3 separate regions of the Homo sapiens genome follow, and regions 1 and 3 are each linked to region 2. The links are contacts of gene promoters, found by promoter capture Hi-C in human tissues and cell types (Jung and others, 2019). All regions are on one chromosome and are shown on one strand. The core of a region is centred on a gene start or on the middle of the fragment in contact, and the rest is flanking DNA. Distances in the headings are between cores, read along the strand shown. Region 1 overlaps NRG3 (neuregulin 3). Region 2 holds the start of NRG3 (neuregulin 3). Region 3 overlaps NRG3 (neuregulin 3).

Region 1 (3,349 bases), core at 421-2,920, 390 kb after region 2:
GAACACGATGAGGAGGGTGTTTGAATTGCCATTTTTGTATATGTAAATAGAGGCTCAGAGAGTTAAAAAGCTTGTCCAAAGTATTCACCTAGGACTGTGCTGATTAAGAATCTTAGCACTAACCTAATTTTTATCTGGAATGCTGGATACAATTGAAAGTTTATAGTTGAGGATAGGAAGGACCAAAGATTGGAGTCTTATCCCAGATCATTAACACCAGTTAGGTCATGCATCCTTCCTTACCTGCTTTGTATAAAAAATAAAATAAAATTTAAAAGTGACACTAGAACAACGTTTGTCTTGTTAATGTCTGTAAGATGGTTTCCAAAACGATGAGTCTGGGGACTTAATAAAGCAATTTAGAAGCTTTTGCAGTAGCAGTAACAGGAGGTGGGTGTACATCAGTGGGAAAGAAAGATGTGGATGGCTGAGGGAAGAAAATAAAGAAAAACGGATACAAGATAGAGATGATTGAATTAGGCTTGAATTACTCAAGGGATGGGCAAGAGAAGGTAGACAAGGCTGAGATTTTTGCCTCTAAATCCACAAAGTTCATGCACTCTGAATGAGATTTGGAGCATTTTAAAACCTTTTAAGTTTTCTATTGAACATTTTTATCCTCCAAATCATTTTCTTCCAGTGTGCTAAGATTATAGCCTTTAGCTAATGGTTTTCTCTCTCAGTTATGCTCCTACCATTTATAAGCATTAATTTTGCTGAACTGATATAGTAAAAATGTTCAAAATAACATTTGGCAGAGCATTTTACTCTGACTACTCAAGAATAACCTATAATCTTTTCTTTTTATACTACATACACACACACCACACACACACACTCATATACACACTTACACCTGTTTTTCCAGGATTTACGTCTTTACCTAAAATTGTATAAATTTTTCCATAGTCGAGATGTATAATTTAACCTTCCCTTTCCCAAGGGATGACATGTAGCCATTTATTTCAATAAGAAACTCCAAGAGCACTAGTATTCACAAGCCAAATACAGATAACACCAAAATTTTTGCTAAATAAAGGTGATGCATCCATTAGCAAATGTTGTTGCTTTTAAAGTGATGGTTTATATTTAAAATCCAGTTTAAGTTAAAGTTAGGATATACTGATGGTTTGCACATGATGAGTGGCAGAATAAATGAGTCAAAGTTAACTCAGAGGGGCTTTGTTTATTTTTTTGTTGTTGTTATTTTGCTTTTCCTGGGCATGTGGGTAAATCATCTCCCCAGATGTGATGACTGATGCTTACTGGGCAACGAAGAGAAAATGTCACATAGGCATTGGATATGTGAGTCTGGAACTCAGGGGAGAAATAGGGGCTGGAGTTAAAAAACGTAGAGCCTTTGTATTAGTTCGTTCTCACATTGCTAATAAAGACATACCTGAGACTGGGTAATTTATAAAGTAAAGAGGTTTAATGGACTCACAGTTCCACATTGCTGGGGGGCCTCAGGAAATTTACAATCATGGCCGAAGGCACCCTTCACAGGGTGGCAGGAGAAAGAATGAGTGCTGAGCAAGGGGGAAACCCCTTATAAAACCATTAGGTCTCAGAACTCACTAGTGATCATGAGAACAGCCCGGGGGAAACTGCGACCCCCACTCCCGCCCCGCCCGATTCAATTATCTCCACCCGGTCCTGCCCTTGACACATGGGGATTATTACAATTGAAGGTGAGATTTGGGTGGGGACACAGAGCCAAACCATATAATCCTTGTTGTGGAAATGTTATTTAAACCCACAGACTGGATAAGCTCACCAAAGGCGTATGTGTACATGGAGTAAAGGGAAGAATGACTGAACTTTGAGGCACATCATCTTTAAAAGTCGGGAAAAGGAAGATTTAACAATGTTGCCAATGAAGGAGCAGGGAAAGAAGCCACAGGCAGGGAGAGAAATCAGAAAATGAGGACATCCTAATGGCCAAGGCGGGAAAATATTTCAAGAATGGAGGGATCAATCATGACAAGTGCCACTGAGAGGTCAGGTAAAATGAGAACTGAGAATTGCCTGTTGGACACTTAAGGAGAATGACTTTGAGCTTTGTGAAATAAAAGCCTGCCTGGAATGGGTACAAAAGAGAGAAGGGAGGGAAGTGAGCCAGTGAGTACAAACAAGTCTTGCCTTTCACTTGATCAGGAGGCAAGATAGCATATTCTGCTACAGATGAAGTGAAGTGGGTTGACTTGGTGGTAGAAGGCTAAGGAAGTTCTCTCAGCAAGTTAACTAGGTGAGAATGAGGGGTGTGTGTGTATGTAGTGCCAGAGATGTGGGGAGAGAATAAAAGGTGTGAGAAAGTCACCCTTGATAATAAGATAGTAAATTAACCACCAAAATTGGGGCCGCCAGTGCCAAGAACTCACTTGAGGGCTCTAATTATAAATTTATAGTAAGACCAGTCAGCAGAGTCATTCGTTTTTATCTGCATCATGATACATGTAAGGAGGTGACAGAGATCTGCTGAAACCCAACTTGGGATTTTGACAATGGAAGGACAGAAGTGTGGGGATGTTCAACTGGATTTATGTAAGGTATTATAATGATGGGAAATGAAATCTAAATCAGCTAAGAAAGAAAATGAGAGCACGAGGAAGGTTATGGACGATGGCACTGTAATGTATTATAGTCAATGGATTGGAGATCCCAAGAGGTCAAGAAACAACTAAAGTGACAGTGAATATACTAGGGTAAGAAAGCTTGAAAGTTACAAGGTAGTAAAGTGTCTGAAATTGTTATTTTTGGATGTGGCGTAATAATAGATAACGATGAGTTCTGAAGTATGATTAATTAAGGTAAAATATAGGACATGAACATTGGAGAATGGCTGGTTAACAAACTGAGAAACCATTTTCATGGTTGGACCATCTACATGCTTACTGACATCACCAACAATTATGGCAGTAGCCTTATGTTAAAATCAATGCCAGATGCCAATATCATCAGAGGATGGTGGTGGGGAGGCTATCAGAAGACTGTAAATGATGGAAACCAGAAGCATTCATTGATAGTGAAGTTTTGCATTTTAGGGTATGAAGAAGAAAAGAAGGAAAATGTCTTGGAAGTAACAATTCGGAGCATGAATTGTCCCTATACAAACTCCAAGACTTGTGGCATGTGGAGAATTAAAGGAATAGAGAACAAAATTCATCCTTTAATAGGGCTTCAGAGAAAAGTTCTTAGGCGCCAATTGATTTTCTCTTCAAGAAGGGAAGGACATATTCAGAGATGAGATTTTCATGATGGCATGCCTTGAGTGCCAGAGGGTTTGGGGAGTATAGAAGATGTAGGAGCTTGAGTCCCACTAAGGGATCTTCAAAATAGTGTATGCTTA
Region 2 (2,910 bases), core at 411-2,910:
TCTTTGTGGAGACTATCACAGGACAAGAGAATGCGGGCTCCATCATCCACGCCAATCAGACAGTGCTGGGGGAATGTATTAGAAAGTTGCCTTTCTCAACCTCATATTCTTAACGCTTGTAAATAAAAACCCCTCCTCTTCGGTTTTCACTTTAGACCAGGAAATCTGGGGAGAGTTGGCAAGCAAGGTTTTGCACTGTCGGCATATGTCATGCTAACACTGGCTCTTTGCCCCTTGCCTCGGCAGGTACCACACAGCGCTGGAGAAATAGGTACACAGGTGCCTCCCCAGCCAAGGGAAGAAAGCAGTAACGGAATTTGGGAGTCCAACCCCAAATCCTTTCATATTTACCTCTCACAAACACTTGCCTTGTAACGTGTGTACCTGTGCGTACATTTACAGGTAAAGACAATATTTTAAGGCAAGTTCACATAAATGGCTTGGAGATATCTGACAGGTCTGATTATACAAAGGTCTTCTGCTCCACCTGCATCTCTCAGGAACTCAGGCAAAGGTGGCCTTCCATCCAGCCGCACCGCCATCCGGCAGGGGAGGGCACAGGCACCCTCCCACCCGCATCCGCCCCCGCCCCCTCGCCCAGCAGCGTCAGTCTCTGACCCCACTGGATCCGTACAGGAGACGACTCACAATCGGTCGGAAGCTGCTTTTGCCCCCCCACCCCACCGCAAACGGGGGTTTGCTTGGATCATTTATCTATCTTGTGTGCATTAAGAAACCAGCATTAGCTGCTAGTGGGAGGCGCTACTCTGCCCGAATCCCAGCCCGCCGCGGCGATTCTGCACACACACACGCACCAGCCTGGCAGCCAGAGCCCGTCTGGAGACGCCCTCAGCCCGGGGTCTGCGTTCCCCGGGACCCCCGACGCAGTCTCCCGCTTCCGTCCCCCACGCTCAACCGGGCAGGGCGCCGGGGCGTGATTTCCGATCCTCTGCCTGCTTGTTGGGTCCCTCGGAGGCGGGTCAGACCGCACCCGCCGCGGGCGCCCGGTGCGCCCCCAGCCCCTGGCTCGCGGCGGCGACAGCGGCGCTGTTCGCTGGAGTTTGACTCTCCGGCGGCGGCGGCAGCGGCGCGCAGCAGCGAACGGCTGGAGCAAGGCGAGCCGGGCCGCTAGCCCTCCGCGCTGCGCTGGGATTGGTCTCTCCAGAAGAGTGCTGGCCGAGGGTTGGCTGCGGGCCGGCTGAAGAACAGGTGCACCTCACCGCCCGGGCTCGCGGAGCAGCCGCCGAAGATCGCGGCGGCCAGGCAGGCCCTCTGTGTCGGAATGCGGGTGGCGGGCACCCGGCACCCCGCGACCGGCCGCCGGGGCCACTGAAGGCGGCGCGAGGCCCAGGCGCGGCGCGAGCGGGCGCCCCAGGGAGCGGGCTGGGCGCGGTGCCCCGAGGATGTCGGCGCTCCTGGAGCGCACGCAGGCGGCGGGCAGCAGCAGCAGCAGCGGGCGCGGGGACCCGGCGCGCAGGAGGCGGCTTGGAGGGCTGCAGACGCGCCCCGCCGCTCTCTGACCGACCGGAGGCGCCGGGGGCCCGTCTCGCCCCTCTTCCGAGCTCCTTACCGCCCCCTCCCCGGCCCCGTCCCCTCCCCCGCTCCTCTCCTCCCCGCCCGCCGCCCGCCTCTCGGGGGGAGGGGCGTGGGGGCAGGGAGCGGATTTGCATGCGGCCGCCGCGGCCGCTGCCTGCGCCCGAGCCCGCCGCCGCCGCCGGAGCCCGCGCCCGCGCCCGCGCCCGGCCCGCGCGGCCCCATGCCTCTGCCGCGGCCCTCGGGGGGGCGAAGGTGAAGACCGGCTCCTAGGATGAGTGAAGGGGCGGCCGCTGCCTCGCCACCTGGTGCCGCTTCGGCAGCCGCCGCCTCGGCCGAGGAGGGCACCGCGGCGGCTGCGGCGGCGGCAGCGGCGGGCGGGGGCCCGGACGGCGGCGGCGAAGGGGCGGCCGAGCCCCCCCGGGAGTTACGCTGTAGCGACTGCATCGTGTGGAACCGGCAGCAGACGTGGCTGTGCGTGGTACCTCTGTTCATCGGCTTCATCGGCCTGGGGCTCAGCCTCATGCTTCTCAAATGGATCGTGGTGGGCTCCGTCAAGGAGTACGTGCCCACCGACCTAGTGGACTCCAAGGGGATGGGCCAGGACCCCTTCTTCCTCTCCAAGCCCAGCTCTTTCCCCAAGGCCATGGAGACCACCACCACTACCACTTCCACCACGTCCCCCGCCACCCCCTCCGCCGGGGGTGCCGCCTCCTCCAGGACGCCCAACCGGATTAGCACTCGCCTGACCACCATCACGCGGGCGCCCACTCGCTTCCCCGGGCACCGGGTGCCCATCCGGGCCAGCCCGCGCTCCACCACAGCACGGAACACTGCGGCCCCTGCGACGGTCCCGTCCACCACGGCCCCGTTCTTCAGTAGCAGCACGCTGGGCTCCCGACCCCCGGTGCCAGGAACTCCAAGTACCCAGGCAATGCCCTCCTGGCCTACTGCGGCATACGCTACCTCCTCCTACCTTCACGATTCTACTCCCTCCTGGACCCTGTCTCCCTTTCAGGATGCTGCCTCCTCTTCTTCCTCTTCTTCCTCCTCCGCTACCACCACCACACCAGAAACTAGCACCAGCCCCAAATTTCGTAAGTAAACACTGTGTCTCAACTATGATTTACTACTGAGTTTCCCTTCTGCCCTCCTGCTGTCTTTTTCCCTCGCCGCCTGTTTTCTAGCAAGCCCCCTCCCCCATCCCAGGTTTGGGGCAGAGTGAGAGCTGATTAAAACTGGCCACCAGCGGGGAAGAAGGTGCCAGCCTGCTCTGGTTCTGGGGGGGTGGGGGCGTGTAGGAACGGGAGGGAGATTGTCAGGCTCCACTGGCCCCACTTTAGCGGGTCCCAAGTGAGAACAGATCTCCCAACTCCC
Region 3 (2,956 bases), core at 307-2,806, 280 kb after region 2:
AGCCAAACTGGCAATATAAATGAGTGAACCACCACAGGTGGGGGTGAGATGAGTCAGATAGGGAAGACAGCAGAGACTGTCTACCCGGAATCAACTGAGGAATGCAGACCTCACCCAAACAATTCACATTCCTGTTTTTTTGTTTTTGTTTTTGTTTTTGTTTTTTTTTTAAGCATCAAGCCTACCTAATAAAATATGAATTATAAAAAATAATTCAGTTGCCTAGATTTGACCCCAATGAATGATAGTTTGAGGTCTTAAAATATAATTAAAATGCAGCTTGAACCTGAAAGTGGCAGACTATCAAGTTATTATCCCCAGTTGTTTGGGTTTCTATTACATGAATCCAGTTATAAAAATAACACTTAATACATTATAAATTCCTAATTAGGGAGCTACCCAGTAACTGATTATATTGACAAAGTCATGCCATAAATAAGAATTAAAAAGTTAATATAATTGATTAGCTAGGATGCCCTCACTCTTGTTTTTGCCATTATTTAAAATTTAATTGCTTTGCAACATTTCCAGATGTTGATTTTGGACATTTTTTCATGTGTTTTATTGCCTGTGAGCAGTTTTTATGTACTTGTAATCGGAGCTTTTCACGTTTCTTGGATGTAGAAAAATCAATTAAAATGAAGCAAATATTTTTGAAACCTAACCAGACTTTTGTCTTTGTTTTCTCATAAAGTTCCTCCATAGAAATGTGTGGCATGGGAACAGAGCCTAATACTTTCTGAATAAGATATTAACAGGCTTGTAGTGGATGCTGGGAATTTAGAAAGCTCTGTTTTTTTTTTTTTTCTAAAGCCTCCCAGTAGAATGTCAGACTAATAAATGGACTGCATATTTCCACAGTGTTTTTATGACATGTTTCACACACTGTCTTGGTGCAGATATGAGAAAGCCCTTGTCCACAGCCCAGTTCTGACTCACTCATTAATTTTACCTTGTATTCAGTTTTCTTGGGGTGGATCTAGACTAGAATAGAATAGAATAAGCCGACCTTTAACTACAGTCCTTAAATGAGGAAATCTCCACCCTGGGCCAGCTGTGCCAGGAATCCCGACGAGATGGAACTCCGCTGTGGTTTATAGGCAGGGCTGATTTTCAGGGGGGAGTGCACCCATCTGGACTCCCTGCTGTTCCCATCAATCTATTCCAGCCCTGGTACCCCTGGACCACCCTACTGTCCAGCAACTAAAGGATTAACAGGAGCCACCTCCAGGAGCCTCCGGGACCCTTCAGAAGGTGTCTGATTTGATGGATCAGAGGCTAGGCCACTGCCAGCTCTCTGCACATATTTTACATATCACCCATTTGCAGGTGTTGAAGACCGGTAAGTGCCCAGGAGCTGGCAGGTGTTGCAAACATGTCAGTGTACCTGGTGGGGGCGCTCCTGCCCAGCTGATAGGAGACAGCTTCTACCCAGCCCACCCCTTTGGTGGCTACACCAGCTTGGCACAGTCTCTCATTGCTGAAGAGCATCCCCCCGCCAACTCCGCCCAATCCCCACCTCCAGTCTTGACTACTTTTCATTGGTTTGTTTGTTTAAATTGACATCTCCTGATTTTCAAAACCTTGCTGATTAACAAAGCAAAAAGAGCACACACAAAAAAAAAAAAAAAAAAAAAAAAGTCAAAAACAAAGCAAAAAACTCTCAGTCTAAAACAGATAAACAAACCAACAAACAAAGCCCAGGGGCTGCTAGAGGTTGACTCTTGTAAACTGCAAGAACGGACACCACAAACTCCAGAGCAGAGGGCGCCTGGACATTCCAGTGACTTCATCAAGCAGTAAAATATCCGTCTTTCATCTGCTTCTGCTGATGACCAATACTATGCCTGTCACAATTTCCAGTCTTTTAGAGCTACTCTTTGATTACACACAACCGAGACTTTTTCTAAGCCTAGGACATTTTCTGTGTCCTTTTAAACATTGTTTACATCAAAATAATGATATGGATAGGTAAAAGAAAAATACAAAACTACTTGTGCTGTAAAGTAGTTCTATTTTAGAAAAGGAAATCTTGACAAAACTTGAGCCTTGTTAGGAAAAAAGAAAAATGACAAAGCAGTCATGTACAGAAAGCCTGGATAGGATTTTCAATCTCCTTGTGCAAAATCTGGCAAAAATGTATGCTAAGGGTCCAAAGCAGGAAGTGCTCAGAAAGCAAATACAGAAACTCAGCTTAGCAAAGGGGCGAAGCCAGAGAGGGATATAAAGGAACAGAGGAACGGCTGAGGATAGAGGTGAGGAAGCTGGACTCACACAGACTGGGTCTTGCTCAGCCTTCTGCAGTACCAGTGTCAGGGCCAGGCACACAGGAGTGACTAGGAGTTTGAACTGAAATAATGCATGACTAAGAATTAATTTGGGATGGTCTTCAGGTGGAATGATTGGAAATGTTGTTTTACTTTTAATTTTTCAGTACATGAAAGAAAAGATGCCTGTTTTCTAATCATTGAAATCTTATTATGTACAGAAATTTTCCTAGCAGAGCACACGAGGATGAAAAAGAATCAGATGGGAGATGAGGATCAGGACTCTTTCTGTGAATCGGAACCTCTCTGCTCTGCTCCTTTTCTGGTTTCCTCTGTCTGTCCTTCTCTTGTCTCCATTATTCATCCTGTTTCTGCCTTGATGTCATCTTGTTGGATGTCCCATCTCACTTAGTCGTCTGTAATTTGTAAGTAGCATTTAAATTATTTGTGGTCTTTATCTAATAAAGCTTTATTCTCTCTGGTCTTGATGAATGAAGAAGGCAAACTGAGCCTTGTTTTTTCCCTTATTGTCTTACTTCCCCAAAGCACCTGAATGAGTTCTGTGTGGTCTTTATTGACCTGTGATGATCACTGTCCCATAAAAAAAGCATGGTAGCGTAGTGCTTCAGCATAGGCTCTGCTCAGAAGACTTGGATCCCAATCCTTACTCACTTGTCGAGGGAGTTTGA

What was found. Contacts are between HindIII fragments. The study calls those that stand out against the background at their distance.
Region 1: a fragment that was not itself captured here is called in contact with the fragment with the promoter of NRG3 in region 2 in 2 of the 25 tissues and cell types used here (dorsolateral prefrontal cortex and hippocampus).
Region 3: a fragment that was not itself captured here is called in contact with the fragment with the promoter of NRG3 in region 2 in 3 of the 25 tissues and cell types used here (dorsolateral prefrontal cortex, heart left ventricle and hippocampus).

The regions. Positions count from the first base shown.
Region 1 is chr10:82,262,792-82,266,140 of GRCh38, forward strand. The region is part of intron 1 of NRG3 (neuregulin 3); the gene reads left to right. Among named protein-coding and RNA genes, the nearest start is that of NRG3-AS1, 32 kb to the left of the region's middle. The HindIII fragment of the contact is 4,021 bases long and covers 1-3,349 here.
Region 2 is chr10:81,873,534-81,876,443 of GRCh38, forward strand. NRG3 (neuregulin 3) reads left to right here and starts at 1,661. Exons shown (of 9, transcript NM_001010848.4): 1 at 1,661-2,630. The coding sequence starts at 1,808. It overlaps LOC124902549 (a long non-coding RNA gene), which reads right to left and starts at 985. Exons shown (of 2, transcript XR_007062377.1): 1 at 816-985. RefSeq lists an enhancer at 2,610-2,910. The HindIII fragment of the contact is 10,350 bases long and covers 1-2,910 here.
Region 3 is chr10:82,148,915-82,151,870 of GRCh38, forward strand. All of the region lies in intron 1 of NRG3 (neuregulin 3), which reads left to right. Among named protein-coding and RNA genes, the nearest start is that of NRG3-AS1, 83 kb to the right of the region's middle. The HindIII fragment of the contact is 4,871 bases long and covers 1-2,956 here.